Linked DNA regions of Homo sapiens: regions 1, 2, 4 and 5 are each linked to region 3. Evidence: promoter capture Hi-C in human tissues and cell types (Jung and others, 2019). All regions are on one chromosome and are shown on one strand. Each heading gives the region's core, a stretch centred on a gene start or on the middle of the fragment in contact. The rest is flanking DNA. Distances are from core to core; before and after follow the strand shown.

The links. Contacts are between HindIII fragments. The study calls those that stand out against the background at their distance.
Region 1: a fragment that was not itself captured here is called in contact with the fragment with the promoter of TPGS2 in region 3 in 1 of the 25 tissues and cell types used here (IMR-90 fibroblasts).
Region 2: a contact is called between a fragment that was not itself captured here and the fragment with the promoter of TPGS2 in region 3, in 1 of the 25 tissues and cell types used here (aorta).
Region 4: a fragment that was not itself captured here is called in contact with the fragment with the promoter of TPGS2 in region 3 in 1 of the 25 tissues and cell types used here (small bowel).
Region 5: a fragment that was not itself captured here is called in contact with the fragment with the promoter of TPGS2 in region 3 in 1 of the 25 tissues and cell types used here (heart right ventricle).

The regions. Positions count from the first base shown.
Region 1 is chr18:35,523,256-35,527,448 of GRCh38, reverse strand. No RefSeq gene overlaps it. Among named protein-coding and RNA genes, the nearest start is that of INO80C, 27 kb to the right of the region's middle. The HindIII fragment of the contact is 5,625 bases long and covers 1-4,193 here.
Region 2 is chr18:35,452,718-35,456,991 of GRCh38, reverse strand. The region is part of intron 1 of ZNF24TR (ZNF24 transcription regulator); the gene reads left to right. Among named protein-coding and RNA genes, the nearest start is that of ZNF24TR, 12 kb to the left of the region's middle. The HindIII fragment of the contact is 3,768 bases long and covers 1-3,240 here.
Region 3 is chr18:36,827,054-36,831,273 of GRCh38, reverse strand. TPGS2 (tubulin polyglutamylase complex subunit 2) reads left to right here and starts at 2,272. Exons shown (of 7, transcript NM_015476.4): 1 at 2,272-2,591. The coding sequence starts at 2,507. It overlaps KIAA1328, which reads right to left and starts at 2,147. Exons shown (of 10, transcript NM_020776.3): 1 at 2,078-2,147. The coding sequence starts at 2,135. RefSeq lists a silencer at 1,913-2,512 and enhancers at 1,910-2,702, 2,803-2,912. The HindIII fragment of the contact is 11,405 bases long and covers 1-4,220 here.
Region 4 is chr18:38,569,019-38,572,880 of GRCh38, reverse strand. No RefSeq gene overlaps it. Among named protein-coding and RNA genes, the nearest start is that of MIR4318, 910 kb to the right of the region's middle. The HindIII fragment of the contact is 3,564 bases long and covers 1-3,131 here.
Region 5 is chr18:35,428,694-35,432,950 of GRCh38, reverse strand. No RefSeq gene overlaps it. Among named protein-coding and RNA genes, the nearest start is that of ZNF24TR, 36 kb to the left of the region's middle. RefSeq lists a silencer at 515-728. The HindIII fragment of the contact is 7,027 bases long and covers 1-4,257 here.

The sequences.
Region 1 (4,193 bases), core at 1,374-3,873, 1.3 Mb after region 3:
CTGTGACATGTTCTGGCCTCCAGGGATTGCTTCTCCTGGTATTCCGTCTAGAAACTGAAAATTTAGCTTCCCAACTCTGTAGCATACTTCTGACTGCATCTTTCCTCCAAAGCCAAGCAGTGGGAGAATAGACACAGACAAAAAACAATTCAAATTTTCTCTATGCTCTTCGGACTATAGTCCCTCTGGTCAGAGAGAAGGGTTCTACTCCCTCAGAATTTTAGGTGCCTCTTCAGTTGCTGCTGCTGTTACTATCACTGTCACCACCATGGGGTTTCCTGGAGGGTTGGGTGGGAGATAAAATAAATGACTAAAAATAAAGGGGAATGTCTCCCACTCTCTCTGAGTCTTATGGGCTCCCTTTCCCATCCTCAGGTCAGAAGGAGACAGCTTCTCTTGGAGCTTGCTTCGGTTTGGGTGTTTGTCACCTCCAAATCTCATGTTGAAATCTGATCCCCAATGCTGGAGGTGGGCCTAATGGGAGGTGATTGAGTCATGGGAGTGGTTCCCTCATGAATATATTAATGCCTTCCCTTGGGCATTTATTAGTTCCTGCATGAGCTGGTTGTTAAAAAGAACATGACATCTTCCCACCCCACTTCCCTGATCTCTTACCATGTACTCTCTGCACATGGTAGCTCCCCTTCACCTTCTTCTTTTTTTTTTTTTTTGAGGCAGAGTCTCACTCTGTCTCCCAGGCTGGAGTGCAGTGGCGCAATCTCTGCTCACTGCAACCTCCGCCTCCCAGGTTCGTGGGGCTTGAAGCCAAGTGTTTGGTTTTTGTTCTTCCTGAAGCTTGCACAGCTTTAGACCTCGTCTGCTAACAGCACTTGTCTGTTAGGAGATGATTCTGCCTCCTTTCTTTTCCTCCTACTCAGTGCAGAGCTTGCAGGGTCCCCAGCAGCCAGGCAGTTATTTGGGTGTTAAGTAGCCTTATGCTATTTTTAGCTCTTAGAGGATTGCAAGTGCTTTATACACAACTCTTTACTTCTTGTTTGCTTTATCTTTTCATTTTTGTTGTTGCTGTTTTTTGTTTTTGTTTTTGTTTTGAGACAGAGTCTCGTTCTGTTGCCCAGGCTGGAGTGCAGTGGTGTTATCTCAACTCACTGCAAGCTCCTCCTCCCAGGTTCAAGCAGTTCTTGTGCTCCTGGAGAGCTGTGATTACAGGCGCATACCACCATGCCTGGCTAATTTTTTATTTTTTTATTTTTTGTATTTTTAGTAGAGACGGGGTTTTGCCATGCTAGCCAGGCTGGTCCTGAACTCCTGGCCTCAAGTGATATGCCCGCCTCAGCCTCCCAAAGTGCTAGGATTACTGGCATGAGCCACTGCACCCAGCCTGTTTGCTTTATCTTTTCTAAAGCTCAAAACAAATAGGAAAGAGCTTCACTTGCTCCCTCCAGGCAGCTACTGAATGAGAGTCTCCGCAGAGCCAGCACTTAGTTGACACCAGCCCAGCTCCAGGCTGCACGTGACTTGGAGGAGGATCCGAGACATGCCTCTTCTTCCTCCATCATGGGAGGCAGCGTTAGCCACAATGTCTCACCTTCAGCCCACGACCTTCCAACAGATACATGCCAAGTTTCCTGTCCTGCTTCCTGTCATTGCTGCCTAGGAAACAACTCTCCAAAGAAGGAACCACCACTAGTTTGACTTGCTCTTCTCCAAGCTCCTCTTACACATCTCAGAAGGGGTCACTGAGCTAGTGGCTGTTTTCTTACACTCTTCATATGTACAGCACTGCTGATCTGGTCTCTGTTACTCTTTACATTTGAAAATGTCTTAACATTCTATTATGCACTCCGTTAAGACTTTTTATTTTTTGAGACAGAGTTTTGCTCTGTCACCCAGCCTGGAGTGCAGGGACATGCTCATAGCTCACTGCAGCCTCCAACTCCTGGGCTCAATAGGTCCTCCCACCTCAGCCTCCCAAGTAGCTGGTACTACAGGTGTGCACCACCATGCTCAGCTAATTTTTTATTTTATTATTACTTTCTATAGAGATGGGGTCTTGCTATGTTGCCCACGCTGGTCTCGAACTCCTGGTCTAAAGTGATCCTCCTGTCTTGGCTCCCCAAAGCACTGGGATTACAGGTGTAAGATGTATAGATGATACAAATAGATGACTATTTAATAGTCATCTGCATGCCATATTTTTTGAGGTGGAGTTTCAAAGCCTTGGAAGCAGTCCTACATTCATGAGTCCTTTGGAACCAGCTCAGGTCAAATGGCTCCTTCTGTGTGTACCCAGCCTTCCTTTCTGGGCCCAAGCAGGGACCTGACTTTGGGTCACACCTGGCTCTCCCATATGGAATAAATGCAAGCTCTCTCCCTTACACTGCTCCATTCCAGTTCTTGGCCTGCCTAACTCATATATCAGCTGCAAACAGGCCAAGGAGAAGAGGAGAGGACCTGGAAGCAGTTAACATGTGGTTTATTTGCGGGTCAACTCTAGCTTATTGCTCTTATGACAGCATGTAATTGTAACGAGACCTGGTGCTGTTGCTCCCAATTACTGCTTACATCCTGAATCTTGGTGTGTCTGGACTGTGTTTTCGGGTTGGGTTATCAGCGCTGCAGTTAGCCTGATTATTTGGTAATCTTGGTATATGCCTCTTGAGCCCAAGCTCTGGCTTTGTATCTCGATGCTTCCTCAGAGGGTTTTCCTTATAATAACTGTAATAATGGCAGTTACTCTTTACCAAGTATGTGCTGACTGAGAACTATTTTAGACCATTTTACATGCATTAGCCTATGTGTTTCTCCCAGTAACTCTGAAAGATAAACTGCCGAGGGTCAGAGAGGTTAAGGAACTAGCCCAAGCTCACATAGCACAGCTAGTTCAACGACAGACTTGAAAATAATACTCAAATCTGCTTGACTCCAAAGTGTGTGCTGCTTCATTTCCTCTGCACCAGACTTGCGACCTTCTGCTCAGAAGGGCCTGGAGAGTATGCTGAGTTCTGGGTATTTCCATGGCTGGAGATTTCACAAGCTCATGCCTGACCCATGTGGCCTGGAGAATTTCCTTGGGTTGGGTTTCTGGTTTGCTCCTGCCTTCCCTGTGAGGCAGCAGCAGTTCCGCCCGAGCCGCTTCCCTCTTCAGTATTCACTGTTCAGCTCCTGTCAATCCCACTGCATAAGTACAAATTCAACTTGTCCACCCCTCACTGAGAAAGCCAGGTACACCCCCATGGAGAAAATTGCATGGATGTATTTGGAATTAACTCAATTGATGATGTATAAAAATACTTAAAGACATTTGGGAAACTGGGGCTGGAGTTTTGTTCAAACTGGCAGTAGCAGGTCGGATAGGACAAGATGTAGAGTGCAGATTTTCTATTAAAAATATAGGGGAGAAGTGACTTCGTTGAAGCCTTGGTAGCAGCAGGTTGCCATGGTAACACAGGCACACTGATCTGAATTAGAAAGAAATTACTATAGGGTCGAACTACACCAGAGGGAAAAAAGAGCTTGTGTGTGAAGGGGATGGCAGGGAGGAGAAGGGGGGGAAGTACTGGGCTGGGAAGGAGAGGAGAAAGAGGAAGTTGTCTCCAGAACAGGAAGAGCAAGGATGGGGACCATATTGAGGCAAGGAGTGATCTCTCTAGGGTTTTCTCTTCTTTTTTAGAAATTTCTATAACTAAAAGTAAAAAAGGCAGAAACAGGACTGGCAGGTGAGGTTGTTCCCCATCTCATAAATGAGGACTGCTTTAGTGTGCCAAGCATGTAGTGTGCCAGGCATGTAGTGTGCCAGGCATGTCTCCAATCCTCCCCCAAGTCACTTGCAGCCTGGAGCTGGGCTGGTGTCAACTAAGTGCTGGCTGACAGCTCTGCAGAGACTCTCATTCGGTAGCTGCCTGGGGGGAGCAGGTGAAGCTCCTTCCTATTTGTTTTGAGCTTTAGAAAAGATAAAACAAACAGGCCAGGCGCAGTGGCTCACACCTGTAATCCCAGCACTTTGGGAGGCCAAGGGGCGGGAGGGCGGGGGACAATCACTTGAGGCCAAGAGTTTAAGACCAGCTTGGCTAACACGGTGAATGGTGAAACCTTGTCTCTATTAAAAATACAAAAATAAAAAAAAAATTAGCCAGGCATGGTGGTGTGCACCTGTAATCCCAGCTCCCTGGGAGGCTGAGGCACAAGAATTGCTTGAACCTGGGAGGTGGAGGTTTCAGTGAGCCGAGATCGTG
Region 2 (4,274 bases), core at 107-2,606, 1.4 Mb after region 3:
GGTACATAACACATTGTAATACCATTCAAATTATAAAATACTTTCTCTTTTTTTTTTTTTTTTTTTTTGAGACAGGGTCTCACTCCATCACCCAGGCTGGAGTGCAGTGGTGCCATCTTGGCTCACTGCAACCTCCCTCTTCCAGGCTCAAGCAATCCTCTCACCTCAGCCTCCCTATAGCTGGACTACAGGCACGCACCACCACACCTGGATAATGTTTATATTTTTTCGTAGAGACAGGGTTTTGCCATGTTGCCCAGGCATGCCTCGAACTCCTGGGCTCAAGTGATCGGCCTGCCTCCGCCTCCCAAAGTGCTGGGACTACAGGCATGAGTCACCGCTGCACCCAGCCATAAAGAAATAAATGGAAAAAAAGTCCTGGCAACGGTCTTTGAAAAACTGAAATATACTCCATGAACCCTGTCATGCAGACCTGCCCAACTCTGCAATCTTAGCATCTCATTGTTTTGTTTTCCCTGTCATGTCTGCAGCTCATCTGTCTCTTGGGCTTCTTCCTATCTCGGTCCTGGTCCCCATCCCCTGTGTTTTACTCTTTGCCAGCTTTTTTTCTGGTTTTATGTTCTTCCTTGTCCAGAGCACGACCTTCATCTGTGTATGAGTCAACACAGAAAACCTGACCCAAAAAGGCCAGGTCCAGGAAGGGTGCAGCTCAGCTTTTACTGAGTGTCCTGTATGCTTTGTCAAGTCCTCCTTACGGGTTGTCTCATTTAGTTAGCAATGGATTTGGCATTTCAAGAGGAAACAAGGTTTAGAAGTCTCACAAAACAATCAGCCAATCAAAGAAGCCATAGAGCTACTGAGTGACTTCAACATCTCCAAACTCATTTCTGAGTATGGCCCACACTTAGAGAATGATCTGATAGTATTCATTTCTCTGGGCTGTTTCCTCATTTTCCCTTGAGTAGTAACTAGTGAATCAAAGGATCCCCGAGTTAAGCAAAATCCAACTCATCCACTCCTAGCTGAAGGTTCTAATGCTGCTCATTTCCATAAAACAAAGATTTCCCAGAGCCTGAAGTGGCTTCCTGTTGGCTACTTAAACAGCACAACATATGGTAAAATCAGACTATTAGTTTCTATAAAAAAGTTTATATATATATTAAAAAGGCCTACTACAATTTTGATTGGAATTGCATTGAACCTATAGATCAATTGGAAAAGAATGAGTATCTTAATATTGAGTTTTCTGAAACATAAACTTGACTCATCCTTCCATTTATTTAGATCTTCTTTAATTTCTCTCAGTAATGTTTTATAGTTTCCAGTATAGAAGCCTTGCGCATATTTTATCAAATTTATTCCTAAATATTTTATGGTTTTTGGTTGCTATTATAAATGGTCTTTAAAAAATTTATTTACAAGCGGTAGTATTCACTTTTGTGATATATATTTCTATGATAGATTCTCTTTTTTTTTTGAAAAACTGGGATATAAATTACATATATTAAAAAGCCTTTTAAAGTGTCCAACCCAGTGGTTTTTAATATATTCACAAGGTTGTGCAACTGTCACGACTATCTGATTTTTAGAACATTTCTATAATCCCCTCAAAGAAGCCCCCAGTCTATTAGTAGTCATTTCCCCCTCCCTCTAGCCCCTGCCAACCACTAATCTGTTTTCTGTCTCTGTGGACTGAGCTATTCTATTTATTTTGTATAAGGAGAATCATATAAATAGAATGATATAATATGTCACCTTTTGTGTCTGGCTTCTTTCACTTAGAATAATGTTTTCAAAGTTTATCTTCATTATGGCATATATCAGAATTTCATTCCTTTTTATGGTTGAATAATATTCCATTGTGTGGGTAAACCATATTTTGTTTATCCATTGTCCATCAATGACACTTGAGTTTCTCCCTCCTTTTGGCTATTATAAATAGTGCTGCTATAAACACTCATGTACAAGTGTTTGTTTGAATATTTGTTTTCAGTTCTTTTGAGTATATATCTAGGAGTGAAATTGCTGAGTCATATTATAATTCTGTGTTTAACTTTTACAGGAACCACCAAACTGTTTTCCACAGAGGCTGCATCAATTGACATTCCCACTAGCAATGGATGAGGGTTCCAATTTTTCCAGATGCTCACCAACACTTGTTAATTTTGGTTTTGTTTTCATTATGGCCATTCTGGTGGGTGTAAAGTAGCATCTCATTGTGGCTTGACTGAATTTCTCTAATGAGTAATGATGTTGAGCATTTTTCATGTGCTTATTGGCTATTTGTATATCTTTGTTGGAGAAATATCTGTTCAAGTTCTTTGGCCATTTTAAAATTGGGTTGTCTTTTTGTTGTTGAATTGTAAAGTTCTTTAGATATTCTGAATACTAGATCCTTATTAAATATATGATTTGAAAATATTTTTCCCATTTTGAATGTTGTCTTTTCATTTTTTGGATAGTGTCTTTTGGTGCACCAAACTTCAAAAATTTTTTCGAAGTCCAGTTTATCAATTTTTTATTTTGTTGCCTGTGCTTTTGGTGTCATATCCAATAAGTCATTGCCAAATCCAATGTCACAAATATATTTTTGCTGCTTTCTTGTAAGAGTTATACAGTTTTAGCTCATATGTTTAGGTCTTTGATGCATTTTGAGTTAATTTTTGTATGTAGTGTAGGATAAGGGTCTAACTTCATTCCTTTGCATGTAAATATTCCATTTTTCTGGCACCATTTGTTGTAGGAACTGTCATTTCCCCATTAAATGATTTGGCATCCTTGTCAGAAATCAATTGTCCATACATGTGAGGGTTTATTTCTGGGCTCCCAATTCTATTCCATTGGTCTATACATCTGTTCCCATGCCAGTACCACACTGTTTGATTAATGTCGATTTTTAGTAAGTTTTGAAATCAGGAAGTGTGAATCCTCCAACTTTGTTCTTTTCAAGATCATTTTGGTTATATGGGTTACCTTAAGATTCCATTTGAATTTTCGGATGGGTTTTTCTATTTTTGTAAAAAATATCATTGGGATTTTGATAGGAATTGCACTGAATCTGTAGATCGCTTTGGGTAGTACTATCATATTAACAATATTAAGTCTTCCAAGCCATAAACATGGACTGTCTTTCCATTTATTTAGATTTTCTTTAATTTCTTTCAGCAATGTTTTGCAGTATTCAGTGTACAAGTCTTTTGCCTCCTTTGTTAAATTTATTCCTAAGGATGCTATTCTTTCTGATGCTAGTAAAATAGTTTTCCTAATTTCATTTTCAGATCATGCATAACCACCACCATAAACATGATTCCAACACCCCAGAGTATTCCCTCAGTCTGACCTTTTGTAAAGTGGTGCTTTTTAAAATTTAATTTTCCAATTGCTTGTTGCTAGTGTATAGAAATACGACTGATACTTTTATATTGGCCTTGTATCCTGAGACCCTGTAAATTCACTTATTAGTTCTAGACAGTTTTAATTCTTTCTTTCCAATCTTTATGCCTATTATTTCTGTTTTGTTTTGTTTTTTAAACAGGGTTTGGCTCTGTCACCCAGGCTGGAGTGCAGTGGCTTGATTCCAACTCACTGCACCCTCGACCTCCTGGGCTCAAGTCATCCTCCCACCTCAGCCTTCCAAGTAGCTGGGACTACAAGCATGAGCCACCACACCCAGCTAATTTTTTTTCTTTTCTTTTTCTTTTTTTTTTTTTTTGGAGGGTGCAGGGAGCAGAGTCTTGCTCTGTTGCCCAGGCTGGTCTCAAATTCCTGAGCTCAAGTAATTCATACACCTTGGCCTCCCAAAGTGCTAGGATTACAGGCATGAGTCACCTTGCCTGACTATTACTTCTTTTTTTGAGACAGTCTTGCTCTGTTGCCAGGCTGGAGTGCAGTGGCATGATCTCGGCTCACTGCAACCTCCGCCTCATGGGTTCAAGCGATTCTCCTGCCTCAGCCTCCCAGGTAGCTGGGACTACAGATGCATGCCACCACACCAAGCTAATTTTTAGATTTTTAGTAGAGATGGGGTTTCACCATGTTGGCCAGGATGGTCTCGATCTCTTGACCTCATGATCCACCTGCCTCAGCCTCCCAACATGCTGGGATTACAGGCGTGAGCCACTGCACCCGGCCTATTATTCCTTTTTTTGCCCTATTGTCCCAGTGGATAGTGATGTCCAGTAGAGCGTTGAATCAAAGTGGTAAAATTGTGCGTCCTTGCCTTGTTCTCCACGTTAAGGTGAAATTTTGAAGATTTCATTATTACATATGATGTAAGCTGTAGGTTTTTATTTATTTATTTATTTAGAGACAGG
Region 3 (4,220 bases), core at 1,023-3,522:
CTCATGATGGAAACATCAAGGACTAAGAAATCTCTCCATCACATTTCTCTAAATGTTTAGGTGAAGTATTGAAAATCTTTTTTCAATAGTGTGAAAAGAATACCAGATTATAGGTACTTACTTTTTGGTCTTTTTCTATTGAAAATTCTACTATAAAGGCTCTAGGGTGGTCTGGGAAATAATCAATATGACAAAGGAATCAAGATGCAAAGACATGTAACTAAATCAAATGATTAATAACTATCATTATGCTTTTCAGCAAATATTCAGTAACAAATTTACATTTGACATTGCTTACAGTGACATTCTCTATGGAGATTTAAAATGAAAATATCTGAGGCTCGATGTTAACTGGTCATTACGTGGAATAGTCTGAGGGGAAAGGTGACACTAGCAACTTTGCAATTCCTTTCATACATCTGAATTAGATCTTATAGGATATAATCGCCACCATTTTTCCCCTGTACAATTTCAATTCCTCACTATCTATGAGAGGACGAATATTTTACATTAAATGTTGGGAGTCAGAATACAAGAGATAACGGAGTATATATGACTTCTACATAAAATAGGGGGTGATATAACTACATGAGTAAGTGAAAGTACTGGGTGCGAAGACCAAGAGCTTAGGTTCAGTCCATATATCTATTAATACACTTATTCAGTCCCATTGCAATAGCTTGTCCCCCCCCCAAACCATTGATTCTATATTTGAACAGTACCATAGGATGCTATAAGCTAATAACCTTCAAGTATCTCCTCCATCACAAAATTATGTCAATGCAGAAGCAGTGTTTCTTGAGAAAAGACTTATCCCAATTTCCTAACTTCCTAATTCAGCCCAGTTGTCCACAGTGCACATATTCTCTTCTGAAAGGTAAAGGAAAAAATATTTAATTTGCACACTGCACTAGTATGCTTTCATCCACAGTGTATGTACATGATTTCATTTGCTTTTCACCAACCTATCAGAGACAAATGGTAATTATGTCTAGTAAGTGCAAACACTAAACACGAGCAGCACAGAATACAAACATATCCCTCTCTCTACACATGACACTAATCCTAGTAACTCAACAAAGGAGTTGATAACACAGTTTTGTAAGTTTCACTGGGAGCTAAGAAGAATGCCCAGTGATTCTGCCAAAGGTAACAGCAACGCCTCAATTAATGCCATCACCAATCCTAGCAAACACAAAAAGAGCTGCCTCTGCAAGCACTCAGTAACACAGATTGCCGTCCCTCTTTCAAGTAACCCCTCTAAGGAACGTGAAGTAAATTATCAGGACCAAAGCTCAAGCGAGAAGAGTCTACCTACTCCAAGGAAAGAAACACTCCTGTCACACAAACATCTCATCACTGCTGCTGAACTGGTAATACTACCACTGGACTAAAAAGTTCCACTGCTTCTCCACCTCACAACGATCCAAGAACTTCAATGACTGCCAGTGACCCGCACTCCACAAGTAAGTCAACAATACTTCCAGGCACAATGATTCCCATCTTACGCAGTAACCAGCACCACCAGACCACATCCCAGTAACCAAGCTCCACACCTCTCCTAAAACCCCAGTATTAAAATACATCATCACTGGAGGGCCTTTTAAGTCCGAAAGGTCCTGACTTGCTCCTAGCAATGCAGACTAAAGACAATCCTAAATCAAAACAAAAAGGCTCCCTGTCCAGCCAACACCGACTCCTCCCTCAACTTCGAGCTAGCTCCGCACACTCAAGTCAGCCTGGGGGCACTCTGACAGGGTGGGCAGAGGGACCTCGGAGGGCCATCTCAGCCCTGGACTGAGCCTGGACTCAAGGCTATCTTTCTCGAGCTCACCGGTAGTGAGCGCTGGGAAGCATCTGAGCCGTGTCCCCACACCTGCAGACAGTACCAGTCTCTCGGCCACCTAACACCCAAGCAAGGGGAGAGCCCAGCACCTAGACTGGGGCCGAGCAGCACGTCCCCATCCCCGGGGTTAGTTCGGAGCTTCTCCTCCGCTCTCGGACTGCCACGCGACGGCTCGCCCCTCGCCGTCCCGTGGAGGGCGCCGGCGCCCCCTGTCAGGCGGGCAAAGGATACAGTCCCGGCTCCAGAACGCCGCGGCACTGGGGCGGGAGGGGCCCGCCACGTCCGCCATCTTGAAACAACCGCCACTCGGGGCGTCGCGCCTGGGCCGCCACGCCTCGGCCTGCAGGCTCGGTCCCCATTGGCCGCACCACGCAGAGGCCCGCCCCCGCCTGCGCGGCCGGCCCCTGCGGGGCGAGAGGGTGGGGGCGAAGGGGAAGCTACGTCCCGGAGGTGCGGTGTGGGGCACCGGGCGGGGCCGCGGGAACCGGCGCCCCACGGAGCTGCTGCTGTCAGACCAACCCCGGGCCCCCATCATCACTGCGCCGCGCTTTCAGGCGCCGAGAACTACCGTTCCCGGCATGCCATGAAATTGGCCTCGGCGCTGAGGCGGGGTCCGGCCCTCCACCCGCTCCCGCCGCGCGCGAATCGCGGTCGCGAGCCATGGAGGAGGAGGCATCGTCCCCGGGGCTGGGCTGCAGCAAGCCGCACCTGGAGAAGCTGACCCTGGGCATCACGCGCATCCTAGGTGAGGAAAGGGGGCACGGTGCCGAGAGGGTGTGGAGGAGAAGGAAGGAGGAGCGGAGGGATGAGGTGCGGGGTGAGCGGTGCGACGCTGGCCCCAGAACAGGAGTGGACATCGCTGCTGGGACTTCCGTTGTTACAGAGGAAAGTGGGGGACCTGGGTTTGTGATTAGGCCTTGAAAGTGTTTGCCAGGAGTGTTCGGAGGCAGAGCTGGGAAGCCTGAAGTTTCCCCCACTCACCGCCAACCAAGGTCCCACCCAGGAAGGACGGGCAGAGACGTGCAAAGGGAACACAGCAAGCACCTGACGGTTGGGAAGTTGGATCTCCCCCTAGGAGGCATTCTCAGCCAGGGCATTATCCCCGAAACCCAAGACCTTTCTCTGGGGGAAGTAATGCACCCGACCTCCCAGGGCGACAACTACGTCGGGTCTGAAAGGAATCCAACCTTGCACCACTGAATGACTCAGAGTTTTTCTTTTATCGAACATTTCTTTGTTTGCTTGCTTGTTTGTATTTTGAGACAGAGTTTTGCTCTTGTTGCCCAGGCTGGAGTGCAATGGCGCGATCTCGGCTCACTGCAACCTGCGCCTCCTGGGTTCAAGCAATTCTCCTGCCTCGCCCAGCTATTTTTTTGTATTTTTAGTAGAGACAGGGTTCCACCATGTTGGCCAGGCTGGTCTCGAACTCCTGACCTCAGGTGATCCACCCGCCTCGACCTCCCAAAGTGCTGGAATTACAGGCGTGAGCCACCGCGCCTGGCCTATCAAACGTTTCTTTAGTACTCACCACTATGTTAGACGTGAGGTTAAAAATATGAAAAAGACACAGTTCTGTGAAAAAAATAAACAAATGAGGTCACTAGGAGTGTGAAAAGAGGTCAGTAATCTGTTACTCAGAGATGTCACAGAGGAGGGGACTGATCTTACCAGGGAAGTTAAAGAACATGTCACAGAGGAGATGATGCTAGATTTTGAAAGACATATAGGAGTTAGCCAGAAAACTAAGGAGGAGAAAGGTCTTTTAAGAAGGCTGAAAAGCATGCTTCAGTGCCTTCCCATCACAATTATAATAAAATCCAAATGTCTGTACCATGACCCACAAGTCCCTGTAAGATCTGCTCTCATCTCTTTCTGACTTTGTTTCCACTCTTGCCCACATGGCCTTCTAGCTGTACCTTAAACACACTAAGCGGGTTCCTGCTTCAGGGCTTTTGCAGTTTGCTAGTCCTTGCACCTGGAATTATCTTTCTCTGAATGTCTCGCTTCTTCAGGTCATTCAGATCTCTGATCAAATGTCATTATTTCAGAGAAACCTTCCCTGAATATAGTTCGAATAACCGCCGTCTTTCTTGCTCTCTCTTTCCTTACCCTGCTTTTTCTTTTATTCTTATAGCACTTTCACTACTTGAAATTATGTATTTGTTTGGTTGATTTTTAAAATTTGTGTCTCTTTTAATAGAAGTCCAAGACCAAGTGTGATTTAGGAATGAGTGGTTTTAACATATGAAAATCAATTAATAGCTGGGCATGGTGGCCCATGTCTTTAGTTCCAGCTACTGGGGAGGCTGTGGTGGGAGGGTTATTAGAGCCCAGTTCAAGTCCAGCTGGACAACATAGCAAGACCCTGTCACTA
Region 4 (3,862 bases), core at 100-2,599, 1.7 Mb before region 3:
AATATACCATCCACTGACACAAATTAGACAGCTATTGAGATTAATTTTGAGGCACTATCGGCAACATCTTAAATCAAAAATGATTCTTTATTAGCATGCTTGGCGGTATAGTGTGCCTGCCCTCCCCCTCCTGATCCCTGCCACAAGAATAAATGAGGCCCCATGGTTGACATAGCGCATCAAGTGTTTTATAATAGTCTAATTGTAGCTAATGGTTTGTGCAGCTAATTAAGGCCCTATGAATTACAGTAATCAGTCAAGCTCATCCTTTAAACCAGATAGTTCTATTCAACCGTTCCTTCAGTAAGAAACAAAATATATAACTATATATGACTATAAGTACATAGGCACACACACAGACATCCAAACTGGCCATGCTGATCAGGTAGGTTTATTTGAGCACAAAGAAGTTAAAGGACTGATTTTGTTCCTTTTACTTATAAAAAAATATTTATTTCAAGAGACACAGGTTTTCATCAACAACTGCAGTTACCATGGGCAGGACAAAGGTGGAATCTTCAGTCTGGCATTTACCTGAAAACTGAGAATGGAGTTGGCACTAAGTGTAGCATATCTCCCCTCTTACCTCAGAGACTTCATGCAGGTTGCAGCTCAAGAGTGACTATTTGGCATTTATTATGTTGTAGGAATCCAAATGTCTGAGAGAAATGGTGACAAATAAGCCATCTGAATCCAATAGTTGAAAATTCAAAATGCACAAAACTCTATTTGCCACCTGGATAGTTGACAAAGCCTTCAACATGATTAGGTTCTTTTAGTGGCAGTAAGAATTTAGTGACCAATTCAGGGGCAATTAGAGGAATGGGATGGTTTGTCTTTTGTAATGAACTTTTTTTGAGAAAAAAATATCCTAAATAGAAGATGGATTACGTTACAAAAATCTCTCCAGAGGCCCAGATGGATATTCCATGTCTTGGTTTATTTAAAACCTGACTGGACATTGCAGGAAAGAACTTTGGAAGCAATTCCGTAAAGCCCCTGGGGAACAGAAGAAGGGAGCAATAGGTCTTTTCCAGCACTTGTATTTTTGATTCTTTGAGAAAGAGAAAAATCCATAGAAATGTCATCAGCATGACCTCTGCTGGAACAACATGTGCCCCAGTCCCCCAGGGTCCCATTGCCAATGAGAAGTAGGAAAAGAAACAGGGATTTTCATGAAGGTCACATGTTTCCATTTTTTCCAGCTCACAGAGCTGGTTAGTACCTTGCAAGATCAACCAGTTCTTTACCTCATTTTTAGACAAGATTAGATTTAACTACCCCACATAGACGATTGCAGAACCATTTCCATTATATAAAATATGTTTCTGTGGCATAAGCTAATGGTATATTCTCACTTCCGGAAACTACTTCCTTCTATCTGGTCAAAATTTTCTTACTGTAATGGAGGGTCATTTCTTTATAATTTTATAGGAAATGAGTCAGTATCCCTTATAAGTCTGTGCCACTCTTTTTCATTTGCCAGGTCAAATTATTCTTGTCTCATTAAATTACCCCTGCAGGTCTTATTAGCTCATCATTGTGATGTAGTGGAAAGCTCACTGGTCAAGAAAAGTAAGTGCTACCTGCCTTTTAAACTAGTCAGTGTTAGTAATTTATTACAACTCTCATTATTTATATCTATAGGTGGAAACCATGTATCTTCTTTCTAAAGAATCCAACTATTAAGTGTAGAGCTTTCTTTATTTTTGAAGTAGGTTGATCTGCTTAACAAATATCAGTGTTAGCTGTTCATAAAATGTTGTTTGTTATTTATGTATTTTTATTTATATTTCTGCAAGGCTACTAATATGCTTTTCATGGTCGTCCATGATGGCATTATAAGTGTTCTTTTTATCTATTAAATACACTTGTGAAGCATTAGCTTCATGTTGACATTTGATTATACACACTTCAAGGCTTTCTGTGACGTTTTCTCCCTTGAAGATGACCAGATGTTATAGGAAATCAGATTGATGAAGATAAAGAGTGTTATTTCCCTGGCTCTCATGCTACCTTTTCTCCCTCCTTCTTCTGTTCTTTCCATATTTTCCCTGACCTGTCACAGAATGGTCCCTGTACTCTTTATGGGGTTATTAACCCAGGTCATTTTTAGCTTGTTTTGACCCAGGTAATTTTGAAATAGATGTTTCCGGTTCAAGCCAAAAAAAAAAAAAAAAAAAAAAAAAAAAGCCTATCCATACTTGGGATGCTGGTTGAACAGGGTCTTGAGCTTTATTTACACTGTACCAAAACAGACAGTTGATAAGTGCTCTTCCTCACCTGCTGTTTGCCTTCTTCTGCAGGATAGCGTCTATAGTCCTTTCAGCATGTAAAATGACTTTACCAGTCCTTCTGGACACAACCAATATTGCTATTTTATCCTGTTGGGTTTTGGCCATACAGGGGAGTAGACATTCTGTTCCTACCACGTTTTACATTCTAAATTTCAAGCATCTCAAAAGTAAGGACAATAATGCATAAGTAATTCCATTAACCCACCACGGTGCTCACTCATTCCCATAAAGGTATGAAGTACAAAATATAGCTTTGGCAGCTAAAGAAATGTCAGTTCTAGCTAAAGTGTTTACGTTATCTGCATAGCTGGAGCTCTAGAGCATTCCTCTTGGATAGACATACACCTATCTAAAAATGCAGACCTGGGCCAACTGAAACTCAAAGGTCCCTTCAGCTTCACAGACCTACTCCACACATCCACTAAATAAGGGCAACAAAACCCCAATTGCTCACAAATAGCTGAATGCAGAGTCCAGCCAGCTGCTTTTAGTTGACTTAGTATTATTTTTCTCGTTTTGTTTGATCCCGCTCCAGAAAGTGGACACTATATTAATCGTATTTATAAATACTGTATGTACCAGTTGCAGAGCCACAGGGCTCATTTAAAAAGAAAGATTAAACACATAAATTATTATAATAAATTAAGCTGTCAAATTTATTACTCCCAGCACCCAGAGTATCTAAAAAGACCTTGGTCGAAATCAAGGGATAATATGGAAAACAATGGACCACCAGAAACACCAACACATCATCGAAATGTTTCGGAAAAATCATCTGATATGTGGATCCCTCTTCAAGATGGTTCAAGGCCTCTTGGTAATAGAGAAAACACAGCATTTCCTCTTACGCATTCTATACTTCTTCAGCTTCCACCTACTGCAGTTATCCAGTTGTCTCAGCATTTAAAGATGTGGGCTTTGATTGCCTATATGAGCAATCCAAGAAGGATGGATTCACCATTCCTACTGCCTATGCCCAGAACAAATTCAAAAGAATCACTACCTTGCTTTGTTCAGTGTGCCAAGGAGCTCTAATTCCTGTGGCCCAAGACTCATTTATTTATGTTAATTTTGACAACTAGGCCTGGGGGTAGGTTAACAGCATTGTTGGGGCTAAAATGCAAGCCAACTGTGGATAAGAAGAACATGCATGATACAACTCTAGATTGTGTTGTGGAGAGAAATAGGTGTTCAGAGAAGGAGGCAGAGAGTATAGATTACAGTCATCCACTGCTTTTCAGCAGCCAATCTCAGCTTCTGCAGCCCTGGTGTCACATGAATATCCAGGAAGAAGGATCTGCACACCTTGGATCAGTTCTCTAAATCCAGCATGTTCTCTCTTCTCAATTCTAGATACTATCTATCTTTCAGGATTCTGTGTAAGTCTGGATTTCACCAGGAAGCATCCTTAAGGAACACCAGATTATGTCACCTCTTCTGTTTCTGAAGAGGAAAGTCTCTTATTGTGCTGATCATTTTGAAATTTAATCACATGCACCCTTTTATTTGTTTATCACCTAGGTTATGATTTGTGTAGGCTAATGTAGAAATTAATCCCCACCTCT
Region 5 (4,257 bases), core at 376-2,875, 1.4 Mb after region 3:
AAAATAAGAACATTTACTATGACTGAGTTCCATTGCTGGGACTTGTAAAAATCAGTGCAAAACCACAGTAGCTAAGGAGGAGGGAGAAATGTGGTTTACTGAGATTTGCTGAAAAGAAAGAATTTCTCTCATGGGGCAACTTGCTTGGAAATAGAAGGAGCTGAAATTTAGACATGTGATTCTCATTACCAGCTACATCCTTTCAGACAGGAGGCAGAAATAATTGGATCCATTTCTATTTTAATTATAACTCTTTGGCTTTAAAGAAATTGCCAGTGGAAATCTGCAGGCCACTACAAACACTGCCGTTTCAAATTCCCCAGATTTTAATGTGGCCTGGATTTCCTTCAGCAGGGCTGAGGCCACTGCCACAATACATGTTTGCTGCTGTTATAGACTAAAAGTTTTCCCCAAACAAAAATGAACTGATCTCTCTCTTTCTGCCTTTACCTCCCCCTCCCTCCCTCATTCTATTTTTCCTTTTGAAATAAGTAGAAAGACCTTTTATATTTTGCCAACCACAAAAAATAGGAAAGAGAAGGAAGCTTTTCACCACGAATGACAGTAGAGTGCTGGCACACGGCGCTTCCTTTCTGTTGCCCTTAGGTGTCTGAAGTGGTCCCCCAACCTCTCTAAAGTTTCAGATTGAGGAATAATCATGAGTTCTGAGAAGTGCTTGAAACTGGAGGATGGGGTCCCAGTGAAGTCAAACAGCACAACCAACACTGAAACCTCTGCAGTTGAACCTCATTAGAGCTGGTCCTCCTCACTTTCTTCCCATCAGTCTCTCTGTCTCAAAGACATTCTTGGCAGAGTTGGAAGGGAATTCCAGCAAGATAATACCATCCAGTGCCCAAGGCAGGGGATGCAGTGTCCATGTGGCCCCCCAAAAGATCACTGCTCCCATGTTCCTGAGAGAGGAACCTGATGGATATCTGAGGTCCCCATGCCAGTCCTCTGATATTGGCCCCACTGAAGAGATTGGTGGCTTGTTGACCACAGCCTGCCCAGGATAAAGGCTGGACTAGTCTTACTTTTGAAGCTGAGCAAATAAATATAGAAGCACAATCCATGCTGTGGCCACAATTTTGTTTTAAATTAAAATTTAAAACAAATTTTAATTTAAATTTGTTTTAATGTAAATTTAAATCCCAAAAACAAATGGCCAGAGACATGCACCATTGTTGGCTTTGAAGATGAAGAAGGGGCCATGAGCCAAGATAAAATGGTTATGTATGCTCGAATGTTTTGCTTGCTCTAATTTGCCCTGCACTTAAATGCTTTACTCAAATTCACTAAAATATAATTCAATAAGTCTTTAAAAGTCACTTTAGTAGGGAAGTAGAACAGCGTTTGTTTATTTGGTTGCTTTCTTGATTTATGCACATATGCAAATAGAAATGTGAGGCATGCATGGAACACGTACACACACACACACACCCTCCAAGAAATAAACATAGCAAAGCATTGCTGTTTAATTAAACTAAACACAAGGTTTGCACCACGTTAATAATACAACTTCCGAATACACAAAGTATATACGTGAGAATGCCAAAGTGTTAGTATTTGGAAATGTTACTGTTTGAAAACCTTACATTCAAGAGGTTTTAGCATGAGCAATAAGCAGCAAGGAACAAGTATAGATAACTGTGTGAGTATGCATGTGCCAGCAATGTCTGGCAATCAGCTATCCAAAAACAAGGAAGTCTGGGAGATAAACCCTTGTTTACAAAATGACAATCTTTGCCTAGAAATGATGCCCAAGAGACAGTTGTGCGTCAACCAACCACAAGCGGTTTTGTTCTTGTTTTGTTTTTTAGGTTTTCCCTTTTCCACACATTCTCTAATAAATCTGAACAAACTAACTTTGACATTTCCTAATGTTTCAAAAAAGGAAGTAAGCTAAAGTCATAAAACACCTTGCTCAACAATAATTTTCTTGGGTTTTTAATCTTGCTTGGAACAGATAGGCGTGATTCACATCCAAGTCAACATGGCCTTTTGTAAGCTGACTCACAGAGAGGGGATGCTGGGGACCCTACCCTCATCCTGGTGGCTCTTCTCTATTTGAGCCCCAGCAAAGGCCACCAGCAGTGGGCACCAGCCACCTTATCAGATGGGCCAAAGACTTGTTGTCATCACTGATTTACATTTCTATAATTTTTTTAAAGTTACATAGTGATTTTTTCCATCAACGAGGGCCCATTTGGCATTACTGAATCTCTGTTTAGAGAGAAAAAGGAAGGGCCTTTTCCTTCTCCAAACAAATTCTGAATGCAGCCAAGACTGGCAAGTCATGCAAAGGAGTTTCTCAGTTTGCCTTGCACCTTTTTGTGAAGATTTCATATCTCTTTTATTTATGATAGTGACACTGGAAAACTTTCCTTGAAGTTTCTTATGCAGAACTTGAATCCCTTCTCTCATGGTTTTTCCAGTCCTGTTATTATTGGCATCTCCTGGCTCCTACCCCTAACCATATGCCTAAAACCTATGGATAAATAATTGAGGAGGGGACTGTGGCAGACACCCCCTCAAAAATGTTCATGTCCTAATCCCTGGTACCTGTGACTGTGTTAGGTTACATGGCAAAGCAGAATTAAAGTTGTGGATGAAATTACGGTTGCTAGTGAGCTGATGTTAAAACAGAGAGAAAAATCTAGATTATTCAAGTGGGCCCAATATAATGTTAAGGGTCCTTAAAAGTGAAAGAGACAGTCAGAAAGGAAAATGTAAATACCAAAACAAATGGCCAGAGACATGTACCATTGTTGGCTTTGACGATGAAGGAAGGGGCCATGAGCTAAGGAATGTGGTGGCTTCTAGCAACTGGAAAAAGCAAGGAAACACATTCTCCCCTAGAGCCTCCAGAAAGGAAGCAGGCCTGCTGTCACTTTAATTTTAGCTCACTAAGACTGATTTGGGCCAGGCGTGGTGGCTCACGCCTCTAATCCCAGCACTCTGGGAGGCCGAGGCAGGTGGATCACCTGAGGTCAGGAGTTTGAGACATCCTAGCCAACATAGTAAAACCCCGTCTCTATTAAAAATACAAAAATTAACTGATGTGTGGCACACACCTGTAGTCCCAGCTACTTGGGAGGCTGAGGCAGGAGAATTGCTTGAACCTGGGGGGTGGAGGTTGCAGTGAGCTGAGATGGCACCGCTGCACTCCAGCCTGGGTGACAGAGCGAGACTCCATCTCAAAAAAAAGAAAAAAAAAAAAAGACTGATTTGGACTTCTAACCTCCAGAACTGTAAGAAAATAAATGTGTATTATTTTAAACCACTAAATTTGCTGTAATTTGTTACAGCAGCAATAGAATATGAATACAAGATTGAACACTTCACTGCTAGCCTCTCTCCTTTGATACCACCATGCCTAATGGTCCACCTCAAATCACTAATTTTGTTAGGTTTGATAATGTCATAGGAAAAATATTTTTAAAATACTATCCTTATCTGATAGAAACCCACACTCAAGTGTTTATAGGTGAAATGACATGGTGTCTGGAATTTGCTTTAAAATATACCCATCGTAAAACCAACTTGTGGGGAGAAATGAAACCAGACTATCGTTGATAATTGTTGAAGCTAGATGATGGGCACATGAGAGATTGTTATGTTATTCTCTCTACTTCTTGTGTGTGTTTGAATATTTCCATAAAACAAAGTTGAAAAAAATGTAGATGGAACAAAATCTAAAATGTCCACCTGACATGGTTTGGCTCTGTGTCCCTATCCAAATCTCATCTTGAATTGTAACCCCCAGGGTGTCAAGGGAGGAATCTGGTGGGAGGTGAGTGGATCATGGGGATGGTTTCCCCCATGCTGTTCTCGTGACAGTGAGTTCTCATGAGATCTGATGGTTTTATAAATGGCAGTTCCCCCTGCTCTTCTCTCTTCTGCCACCTTGTGAAGAAGGTGCCTGCTTCCCCTTCTGCCATGATTATAAGTTTCCTGTGGCCTCCCCAGCCATGTGGAACTGTGATTCAATTAAACCTCTTTCCTTTATAAATTACCCAGTCTCGGGTATGTCTTTATAGCAGTGTGAAAACGGACTAATATACCACCTTTATAGACAGCTATTTTATTTTATGTAAGCAAAGGGGTTTTTCAATTGTTTTTACATACAGCTTAGTTCATGAGACTCTTTTATTATTAACCTCATCTGTGCTAGAGAGGCTGGCCATGACCCTGGCTCTTGATTTTTACCATCTTCCTGAGATGTTGGGAGAAAGATATTAAACCTAAAGCACATAA